Linked DNA regions of Homo sapiens: regions 1 and 2 are each linked to region 3. The links are contacts of gene promoters, found by promoter capture Hi-C in human tissues and cell types (Jung and others, 2019). All regions are on one chromosome and are shown on one strand. The core of a region is centred on a gene start or on the middle of the fragment in contact, and the rest is flanking DNA. Distances in the headings are between cores, read along the strand shown. Region 1 overlaps LINC01989 (long intergenic non-protein coding RNA 1989). Region 2 has its middle 13 kb from the start of CCL8. Region 3 holds the start of CCL2 (C-C motif chemokine ligand 2).

What was found. The method cuts DNA at HindIII sites, captures the fragments that hold promoters and counts their contacts. A contact is called where the count stands out against the background at its distance.
Region 1: a contact is called between a fragment that was not itself captured here and the fragment with the promoter of CCL2 in region 3, in 2 of the 25 tissues and cell types used here (mesendoderm cells and spleen).
Region 2: a fragment that was not itself captured here is called in contact with the fragment with the promoter of CCL2 in region 3 in 6 of the 25 tissues and cell types used here (H1 embryonic stem cells, aorta, hippocampus and 3 more).

What each region holds. Positions count from the first base shown.
Region 1 is chr17:34,169,239-34,172,880 of GRCh38, reverse strand. LINC01989 (long intergenic non-protein coding RNA 1989) reads left to right here. Exons shown (of 6, transcript NR_110748.1): 6 at 3,322-3,505. Among named protein-coding and RNA genes, the nearest start is that of LINC01989, 13 kb to the left of the region's middle. RefSeq lists a silencer at 1,353-1,462. The HindIII fragment of the contact is 5,451 bases long and covers 1-3,642 here.
Region 2 is chr17:34,331,033-34,334,307 of GRCh38, reverse strand. No RefSeq gene overlaps it. Among named protein-coding and RNA genes, the nearest start is that of CCL8, 13 kb to the right of the region's middle. The HindIII fragment of the contact is 4,891 bases long and covers 1-3,275 here.
Region 3 is chr17:34,253,099-34,256,830 of GRCh38, reverse strand. It overlaps CCL2 (C-C motif chemokine ligand 2), which reads right to left and starts at 1,546. Exons shown (of 3, transcript NM_002982.4): 1 at 1,406-1,546; 2 at 492-609; 3 at 1-109. The coding sequence starts at 1,481. The coding sequence ends at 4. RefSeq lists enhancers at 875-1,849, 1,850-2,824. The HindIII fragment of the contact is 9,151 bases long and covers 1-3,606 here.

The sequences.
Region 1 (3,642 bases), core at 1,123-3,622, 85 kb after region 3:
TCCTTTGTAAGCCTAATGAAAGGCCACAAGAGTAGGATTATGGGAGGGGCCTGAATTCTGCAAAGATGTAGATGTAGCTAAAGGATTACTAGTCATTGTCTCCTAGCTTGCCTTTCTATAATCCCTTGCTGCTCAGGAGTCATGTGGCCAAAGGTCACCAGATCTGTGACTTCCTCAGTTGCTTCTATAGATAATGTCACCATTGTGGGGCCTCAGATTGCTCTTTGAAATGTTTTCAAGATTTTTGCATTCTGACAGCCAAATGACTCCACCCATATCTGGGACTCATGACTCAACTGGTCCTGTGGCCCCCACCCAGAGGCAGACTCAGCACATGAGGACTGAATCCTTATGAGTTCATCCCCAACCAATCAGCAGCATCCATTCCCTAGCCCCCTGTCCATCTAATTATCCATGAAAATCCTAGCTTCTAAGTTCCTGGGGAGATTGATTTGAGGTATAACTCCCATTCTTCTGCTTAGCTAACTCTGCATTAAACTCTTTCTCTACTGCAGTACCATGGTCTCAGTGAATTGGTTTTGTCTGTGCAGCAGGTAGAAAGAGCCCATAGGGCAATGATAGAGGTCTGCTTGTTCAAGGTTCCTTTTGTTTGTATGCCTCCTCAGCCATCTTCTTCTCATGGTCCTTGGTACTTAGGATTTCTTGGTCTCCTTGGAGGCATGTCTGATGGGATGAGAATTAATCAAACGGGGCAATTCCTTCCTGCCTGGAGTGGTCTGGGAGTTTCTTGACTTCTCTGGATTTTAAGCTTCTCCAGGGCAATGTTTTGTTTGCTTGTTTTGTGTTTTTAGTACCTAAGACTGAGCATCTGGCCAGATATAACAGCAATCATTTAGGGGGAAAACAAAACAAAACAAAACAAAAAAACGGTGGCCCTTCTCTGTGAAGGACAACCACATTTTCTTTTATGAGAGGCAGTCATTTTCCTGAGGTTGTAACAAGGACTTTGTGTGTGTGTTGTCAGGAAGAGGGATGGATACTGTTGGAGACACTTTTTGAGAAATAGCAGCTGTCTCTCTTTATTATGTAGGGACCTGAGAAGGTGTAGACCAATCTGCAAATGGATCCTGTAGATCCACACGGCCGAAAGGGAACAAGATGGTAACTATGATCCTAGAAACATTTGATGAGGGGAATAAACAAGGCAGAGAGTGGTGGCACTCACCAGGGTTCATGGACTGGAGAGAAGGGGCCAGGTAGATTGCTCAGGGAGATCTAGTTGAAGCTCAGTGTATAAACGCGTCTGGAAGGGTCTCAGCACCTGGTTCCCCTGACACAGTGTATAGACCTGAGTAACAACAGTTGAACATGTGTACTTGTGAACTAAGGGAAATATAACCGCAGCTCCCCACTGTGCGGTTATCTAGGCCAGCACCAGCATGGCCTTGGCTGTGGTGGGAAGTGTCTCTAGACCTGTATGAGATCATTCTTCCACAGTGACCTCTGGTGGTAGTTGGGGGCAATTGCACTTGGCCTTGGAGGAGATGGCCCTGATTGATATTTTAAAGCAAGCTTGTCCAGCCCGCCGCTCAGGACAGTTTTGAATGTGGCCCGACACAAATTTGTAAACTTTCTCAAAACATTATAAACATGTTTTTTCTTTTTTTCTTTTTTTTTGCTCATCAACTATCGTTAGTGTTCGTGTATTTTACGTGTGGCCCAAGACAAAGTCTTATTCCGTTGTGGACCGGGGAAGCCAAAAGATTGGGCATCCCTGTAAAGCAAGAGTGACTGACAAAGCCCTGGAGCTCTTAGATAAGTGGTGAGAATAAATACAGGGAAGATAAAATAATATCAAGAAGCAAGGAGAGAGATTCTGGACTTCATGTTGATTAGAAGAAATGGCTTGAGTGATTCATTTAATAACAACAAAAATATGTGACTGTAATTATACCCCAATTACTGAAATATCTCATACCAGTTCTAAATATTTTATTTAAATATTTTACTTATTTATTCATTTATTGAGACAGGGTCTTGCTCTATCACCCAGGCTGGAGTGTAGCAGCGTGATCACAATTCACTGCAGCCTCAAACTCCTGGGCTCAAGCAATCCTCCTTCCTCAGCCTCCTGAGGAGCTGAGACCATAGGTACATGCCACCGCGCTTGGCTAAGTTTTAAAAGTTTTTGTAGAGACAGGATCTCACCATGTTGCCCAGGCTGGTCTCAAACTCCTGGGCTCAGGCGATCCTCCTGCCTCAGCCTCCTAAAGTGCTGGATTATAGAGGTAAGCCAATGCACCCAGCTGGCAAACTTATGTCGTGTGCAACACTTTGCATATAGGTGGATTTCAGGACATGTTTGTTGAATGGAGATGATGGAATTAAGGCTCATCAAAATCCACACTGATAGAAACTTCACATACTTATCCATTTTATTTCTTACAAGCTGATAAATGTTGTTATCCTCATTCTCCCGATGAGCTGTTGAAGGACCCATCTCCAGTAGTGACTGGTGGAAACAGTATTGGAACCCAGAGTTGATAACTGAACCCCTGCCAGCCCCACTCTGTCATCTCCTCGGTCAGTTGGGATGCTGCCGGGGTGTCTGCCTCAGCCTCGGACACAGAGTGGTGAAACAGATGATTTCGATGGATATAGTTAATGGAGGCCTGGGGTCGGTGAAAGTGATTTAATTGAAACGAAGTCAAGGAAAGTTTTACAAAGGGAGAAATTAGGTGTTTTCTCCTGAGACTTATGATCTGGTGAGAGGATTATGGTACTGAAAATCCTAGCAAAGGCATCAACCAGCAATACTTGTGAGTTCCATTAGTTACAATCATCTATTACTGGGAATGGGAAGGGAGAATGGAATCAAAGAAAGTAAGTTAAAGGTGTTTGTATTGAAAGCCAGAAAAAAAAAATAAAAAAAATTAAAAAAAAAAAGGTCAGCCAGGTGGGAAAATAAAAGAGAAAAAGAAATATTTTGATAAAACTGATACATTGAGATTATTCAACTGAAATAAATGTTAAGTGTATATGGGTGATTTTGCAAGAAGTCCTGCCAAAATCACATGAGGTTAATTATTTTGACCCCCATTTTCTGCTCCCACACTTGACTGAGGACATTCCAGACTGGAAATGACACCTCTGCCCTCAGTAACATGTCTGCAGCAACTAATGATCTCTCTGGAGTGTAGCTCAAGTTCCTGGAGTGCAACTGTAACTCTAGAAGCAAATTGGCTTTGCACTAATGGCTTCAACATAATTGCTAGTAGTTTCTGGTCCATTCTGGCAAGAAACACAAAGAATGCAATTGTTAAGTACTCTTTTTCTTTTTTTTTTCTTTTCTTCTTTAAGGGCCTATGGTTCATCCTGCAATATCAGAGAATACACAACTGTTGGAAGCTCATTTGTGCAGAAGCACTAGTTAGACCAAGTCCCAGGATGGTGGGGACTTGAACTGCCTCATGCACATTGTACCCAAGAGCCTGGCCCATGAAGGTGAATCAGTGGATACTTGAATAAAAAGAAGAATATGCGCTGAAGTTTTCTTTGAGGACATTTTTTTTTCTTTCCATAGTTTTGAGCATCTCTGATGTTTTGAGATTTCTGCCAGTCTTTGAGGATGTAATGCTCAATTAGACTTGTTCTCTGTCCTCAAAGAGCTTATATAATAGT
Region 2 (3,275 bases), core at 712-3,211, 77 kb before region 3:
TTATTTTAAGCAAATTGGTACAGAAACAGAAAACTAAAGACTGCTTGTTCTCTCTTATAAGTGGGAGGAAAACATTGAGTACACATGAACACAAAGAAGGGAACAATAGACACCAGGGACTATTTGGGGGTCAAGGGTAGGAGGAAGGTGAAATTTGAAGAATTAACGACTGATTAATATGTTCATTACTCGGGTGACAAAATAATCTGTACACCAGACATCCACGACATGCAATTTACCCATGTAACAAATCTACACATGTACCCCTTGAACCTAAAATAACAGTTGGAAAAAATTAAGAAAAAAAAGACCATGGGGACTTAATTGGGATTATATTGACTTTTTTTAAACTTTTAAGTTCAGGGATACAAGTGCAGGTTTGTTACATAGGTAAACTTCTGTCATGGGAGTTTGTTGTACAGATTATTTTGTCACACAGGCATTAAGCCTAGTACCCATTAGTTATTTTTCCTGATCCTCTCCCTCCGCCCAGTGTGGGTAGGATCTTTCAGATCCTCCCTCTGAAAGGCCCCAGTGTGTGTTGTTTCCCTGCATGTGACCATGTCTTCTCATCATTTAGCTTCCACTTATAAGTGAGAACATGCAGTATTTGGTTTTCTGTCTCTGTGTTAGCTTGCTAAAGATAATGGCCTCCAGCTCCATCCTAAATTGACAGCTTAACATTATCGAGCCTTCTGCTCCATAAATGTGGTATATAGCTCTTCATTTATTTAGGTCCTTCTTCATTTTCCCTTGAGTATGTGTGGTAGTTTTCAGTATAGAGGTCTTACACATCTTTTGTTAAATTTATTCTTATTCTTATTCTATTTTTGATGATACAATAGATGGATTTTTAAAACTTTAATTTCTAATTTCTTATTAGTATATAGAAATTCAAGTGATTTTTGTATATTAGCTTAATTCCTGTGATCTTGAGAAATTCACTTCATTCTAGTAGTTTTTGTAGATCTCCTTGTATTTCCTATGTATATAATCATGTTACCTGTATATGACATTTTAAGTTCTTTCTTTCTAATCCTTATGTCTCTGTTTCTTTTTATCTTACCTTATTGCACTGCCTAGGACGTTGAGAACAATGTTGAAAAGGAATAGGAGATGCTTCTTGTCTTGCTCCTGATCATTTACAGTGCTGTTGTTTACTTCCTGAAGATCTGTGTTTCCACTGGAATCATTTCCCTTCAGATTTTCTCATAGTGAAATATTGTTATTCTAGTAACAAATTCATTCAGCTTTCATTTTTTTTTCTGAAAATGTCATTAGAGTAGAAAAACACTACAAGCAAAATTTACTTAGTTGACATGTCTGTAACCAACAACTTCAGCATATACATTTTTTCAAATACACGTGGAACATTTATCAAACTGACTCTCTATGTTGGACTACAAAGCTAATCTCAAAAATAGAAAAGGTTTGAACACATAGAATGTGTTCTTTAACCATTATGGAATTAAATTAACACCAACAATAAAATGATTTATTTTTATAATATCTCAAAGCTTAAAACTTTAGTCAATTTTGTCTAAATAACTCATAGATCAAAGAAGAAATCACAATGGAAATGAGAATATATTTTGAGGTAAATTATGATGAAAATGTGTCATATTAAAATGTGTGAGCTTTAAAAGCTGTGTTTAAGAGATTCATAGTGGCGACCGGTTGCAGTGACTCACGCTTGTAATCCCAGCACTTTGAGAGGCCAAGGCGGGTGGATCACCTGAGGTCAGGAGTTCGAGACCAGCCTGGCCAACGTGGTGAAACCCTGTTTCTACTAACAATACAAAAATAGCCGGGCGTGGTGGTGGCCGCCTGTAATCCCAGCTACTCGGGAGGCTGAGGCAGGAGAATCGCTTGAAGCCAGGAAGTGGAGGTTGCAGTGAGCTGAGATCGCACAATTGCACTCCAGCCTGGGCAACAGAGTGAAACTCCGTCTCAAAAAAAAAAAAGAGATTCATAGCGGCAACTCACTCATTGAGAGGGAGGAGAAAGCAGGGAGCTCCAGAGCCCTGCCTAGCCTGGCCTAAACTTTGCTGCCAAAGATGTGGTGGCAACAGGTACAACTTCTCCCTTGCCGAGCTGCAGCACTTCAATGGGGTTTAGGACCTGCACATTCTCATGGCCACACCAGCAAGGGCAAAGTGTTCAGCGTGACCAGAGGTTGCAAGTTCCAAGGGCCAGGGGGCCACACAGGATCTTTGCCGAAAGAGATACATCCAGGGGCCCTGCCACATTTTGCCTGGATAAGGGAGCACTGCAGGACAAGCATGATGACCTTTCTGACCTCCCTCCTGCCCAGGAGGAGACCCTGAGTGACTGGGCCTCTCAGTTCACATTCAAGTATTCTCACCTGGATAAACTGCTGAAGGATGGGAGGTACCCACTGTGGATTCAGATAAGGAAGAACCAAAAGATGAGAATGTACAGAAAAATGATTATTTTACAGAATCATTTGTAACATTCCAGTCTGTCTTAAAACATGGTGATTTCAATTTTTGGAAAAGCTTTGAACTTGCTGTATCTTTTAAAATTAACAACACTAGTGACACTGATAAAATTAACTTCTGTCTTAGAATGCATGATGTTTGTGTGTCACAAATCCAGAAAGTGAACGGCAGTGCTGTCATACAAATGTTAATACTGTTTTTTTCTTTTATCTGTAGTTAATACAAGCTGAATTTAAATGTGTTTGTTCTGAGAGACAGGTAAGAAGACCCTTATCTGCTGACCTTCCCTCCACTAGTGTCCTATGACCCTGCCAAATCCCCCTCTGCGAGAAACACCCAAGAATGAACAATAAAAAAAAAAAAAAAGAAGAAGACTTGAATATTTCCCAAAATAGGTAGAAATGTTAAATGTGCACCAAGAATAAAGAATCAACTGTTAGTCGTGATATTATCTAAAGATGGAAAATCCCTTTTTTTCTCAATTGACTTAACTGCCTGATTTGTTTTATCTACCTCCATAGCAAATCTGCAGTGTTCCAGAGTCTTTGGTATTGATTAAAGAGCTGTCAACTAACAAAATGAAATCTCAAAGCCGGGCTCAGTTGGAAACACACACACACACAAACACACACACACTCACTTACTGTGTTCCTGGACTACTTTGTTGTCCTTGCCATCACATGGTCACTTAGATACCCTCACAAACACAGTAATCTACATTTAGGATTAAAATAGTATCTGAAGATTCAAAAGAAAGCTTTGGAGAAAACCAGCCGGCTTGCCTAAAAGCCAAAACCTATGAAGAAGATTGTA
Region 3 (3,732 bases), core at 297-2,796:
TGTTCAAGTCTTCGGAGTTTGGGTTTGCTTGTCCAGGTGGTCCATGGAATCCTGAACCCACTTCTGCTTGGGGTCAGCACAGATCTCCTTGGCCACAATGGTCTTGAAGCTGTGGGGAGGGAGGACAGAGTTAGATGAAGTTCCTTTGCAGTTTTGGTCTAGAAGTGCAGCCCATTCTGCACCAAAGGGCTGCCATGGGAGCTAGAGGAGGAACGCAGGTGGAAGGAGGGAACCCAGGGCAAACTGCTCCTATAGGTGTCCAGGTGGAGCCATCCTGACTTCAAGCTAAAGAAATTGGGGTGTTCTGAATAGGCACCCAGGTGGAGAGTGATGTTGGGGTTCACTTTTTCCCTTGGTGCCTCAGTTTTCCCATTGGGAACCTTTGTACATTAAGTTAAATAGTGCACTCTCTGACTCTAGGTTTATGAGGCTTGTCCCTTGCTCCACAAGGAAGAACTTCAGGCCAGGGAAGGTTGGTGTGCTGAACTCACATCACAGCTTCTTTGGGACACTTGCTGCTGGTGATTCTTCTATAGCTCGCGAGCCTCTGCACTGAGATCTTCCTATTGGTGAAGTTATAACAGCAGGTGACTGGGGCATTGATTGCATCTGGAAAATAAACCACAAAGAAAAAGCATTTTAGGATGAACTGGATTATTCTGATCTTAAGAGCAGAAAAGAGTCATGAGGAAAAAGCAAAAGGCAGGCAGGAGAAGACAAAGAGCTCATTAAATCCCAGTGCTTCTGCCTATACCTCAGAGCTAGAATGTGATCTTTGACCCAATGACTCAGTTTCCTATGCTGTAAAATGGGTATATAACATTGATAATGGACAGAGAGAAGGAGGAGCTGTTAAAGCTAGATAATGCCTACAAGTGTCATTAAGACGGACCAATAATCCAGATGATCAGCACCAGGGAAGATCAGCTGGGGAGCCCCACTATGAGCCTCCTTTTAGACTCTGAATAGGCTATGCCTGGTCATGAGTTTCCCTGATACTCATTACCTCTGCAGAGTCACCGTCTCTGGAAGCTAAGGTGAATGAAGCACAGACCAGATTCTGGGTCTCCAGCGTGTCTGGAAACAGCCTACACACCCACCCTCTCTTTGATTACCCTGATCCCCAAACTCTGCTGGAAGCAGCTGGGGGAGTAACTGCGCTGAGTGTGTTCCCAGAGCTGGAATCCTGGAAGGAGCTGGATTTGGGGTTCACAGCTGGAATTCTAGTTCAGGCTCTGCCGAGCAGCAGCTGTGTGGTTGGGCTCACCCCTTGTCCTTTTCTGAGTCACCTTATCTTGGAAAAGTAGCGTTAAAGCAAGACTGTGGGTACCACGTCTGCTTGGATGGTCCATGATAACTCAGAGAGAAGACAATGTGGTTCAAGGAGAAGAAGAGGGGGCCTTACCTGGCTGAGCGAGCCCTTGGGGAATGAAGGTGGCTGCTATGAGCAGCAGGCACAGAAGGGCGGCAGAGACTTTCATGCTGGAGGCGAGAGTGCGAGCTTCAGTTTGAGAATTGGATGTTTCTGGGTTAGTCTCAGCCTCTCGGTTCCTCTGGCTGCTGTCTCTGCCTCTTATTGAAAGCGGGCAGAGGGAGAGAGGGCGGAGTCAAGCAGGAGGAGGGATCTTCCATGAGTGATAAGTGGGCTGTTAAATCTGCTGAGCAAATGCAGCATCCTGTGGATTTCCAGGAAGTAGGAAAGGGAAGCAGGGGGTCAGGACGAGACACTTTTTCCATTCACTGCTGAGACCAAATGAGCAAATGGGGAGGATGGGGTGCCATTAAGCCCAGACTGACCACAGATGTGAACTAAGAGGGTTATTTTTAAGGATTCTGCTTTCTCTGAAGCGAAAACTGCAGAAAAGGAAGGAAGCGAGGAAACTAGATGAAAGCATGTCAGGCTCGCTGCCAGCTTACCTTCAGGCCACATTCCAAGGGGCCTCCCAGCCAGGAAGGAGCTCTCAAGCTTTGGCCGGCTCCCTGACAATGCATTAAATCCATTTGCTCATTCAAATGCAGAATAGTAGCATCATAGAAGCCTAGCAGAACTGTAGGATTGTGTAAACATTGAACTGAATTCTAAGAGTTCTAGGGTTTCAGACTTGGACAAAGGCATAGACAGCATGTAGTGCTGCAGAAGAAATGCCAGTGTCATACTCACAGAGTGCTTACTCTGCCAGGAATATTCTCAGACCTTTACAAATATTAACTCTGTAAATTCCCCAACTTTATCTAGTAGGGATTGCTAATTTTCATGTTATAGATCAGGCAACTGAGGCACAGAAGGGTTAAATAGCCTGCTCAAGGTCCCCTCGAGCACAGAACCCAGGCAGCCCTGTCCCCAGTGGGCTGCCACCTCTCTGACATACTGCTGGAAGGAAACGTGTACAAGTCCTCCAACTAGTTGCCTGCTTGGGTCCTCTCTCTGTCCTCAGCATCTTCCAAATGGGCAGACAGCTAAAGGAGAATCTAGAAACATTCCTCATGGCTAAGTCATTATGAGTTAGGAGGCTGTTGCTAGCATAGCAGGCAGCAGTGGACAAGAAGTTCATCCCTGGTTATGGCAGCTATTCTCCTGGCTTCCTTCTTAATTTCCAAGGGACATGAGTAAGCAGTGGAGGAGTATTTCGGGAATTGGAAAGCCTGACTTCATTCCTCAGTTGTGCCTTAGATTTCCTCAGAAACTACAGAAGCACACTGATAAAAACCCAAAGACCTTAGAATTCATTTCAGTGAACTGTTGTCTCTTACAAATATGATAGGAGTACTTGAGGCATGTTAATGGCTGGGCTGAGTTTAAAATTCTGATCTCTCGATTCTCCTAGCCCACTGCCTCCTCCTTCTGAGCCTTGCGGTGCCCTTGCCCAATGGGCATACAAAGACTAGTGACTTCTTTCATAAAGGGTCACTGAGGCAATGTCTATAAATGCATGGGGTTTCTTGAAAGAAAACACTTTTCACTACACTTGTAAAAAGAAACGGGTTGTATTCAACAAATGACTGTTTTATTTCTAGTAAGTGGTCAGTAATGGCATTGTTGAGTGCATTCAGGGAGTCAGGTATGGTGCTGACATACTTTCCAGCGCTGCCTGCCCAGTCCTCCAACCAACCCAGCTTTCGTTAGGTTAAAACTGAAGTTATTTGTCCAGTAACTCAGACAGAATAGTAGATGTGCTGAGACTCCCACCCAGGATGTTTCCATTCCAGAATCTCTTCTTCCTGGGACTAGACTTGATGTCTCATGATGGATATTGGTTTCCTGGAGAATCCCAGAGCAGAGACTCTATGGAGTGGCCATTTCAGACTCTGGTGGAATTACAAAAAGCAGGATGAAGAGAGAACAAATCAACTCGAGCCCTGCTTTGCTTGTGCCTCTTGAGGAGCCTTATTCTTGTTCTGCCTGAATCTCACTAGTTACTCCTTTTCTCCCCAACCAGTGTTGAAACTTCTCTGTGTTTGTCTCAGTCCTCTGCTCATGCCTCAATCCATTCTTATCCAATGAATAAAATGTTTCCAGGACTAGAGACTGTGCAACTTTGTGTAGGAATTTCTTCCTAGGCCATCTCACCTCATCTTCCAAGAAGTTTTCCTCATATCAGGGGAAACCTCTCTCTAATCAGTTAGTGCATCCTTTACCATGAACTTGGTGGACCGCATTCAATTTCCCTTTATAATCCAGTCATGCTTCGGGTTTTCTCTAGGTTAACAAGCTGAAAGATGCTGAGATCTTTA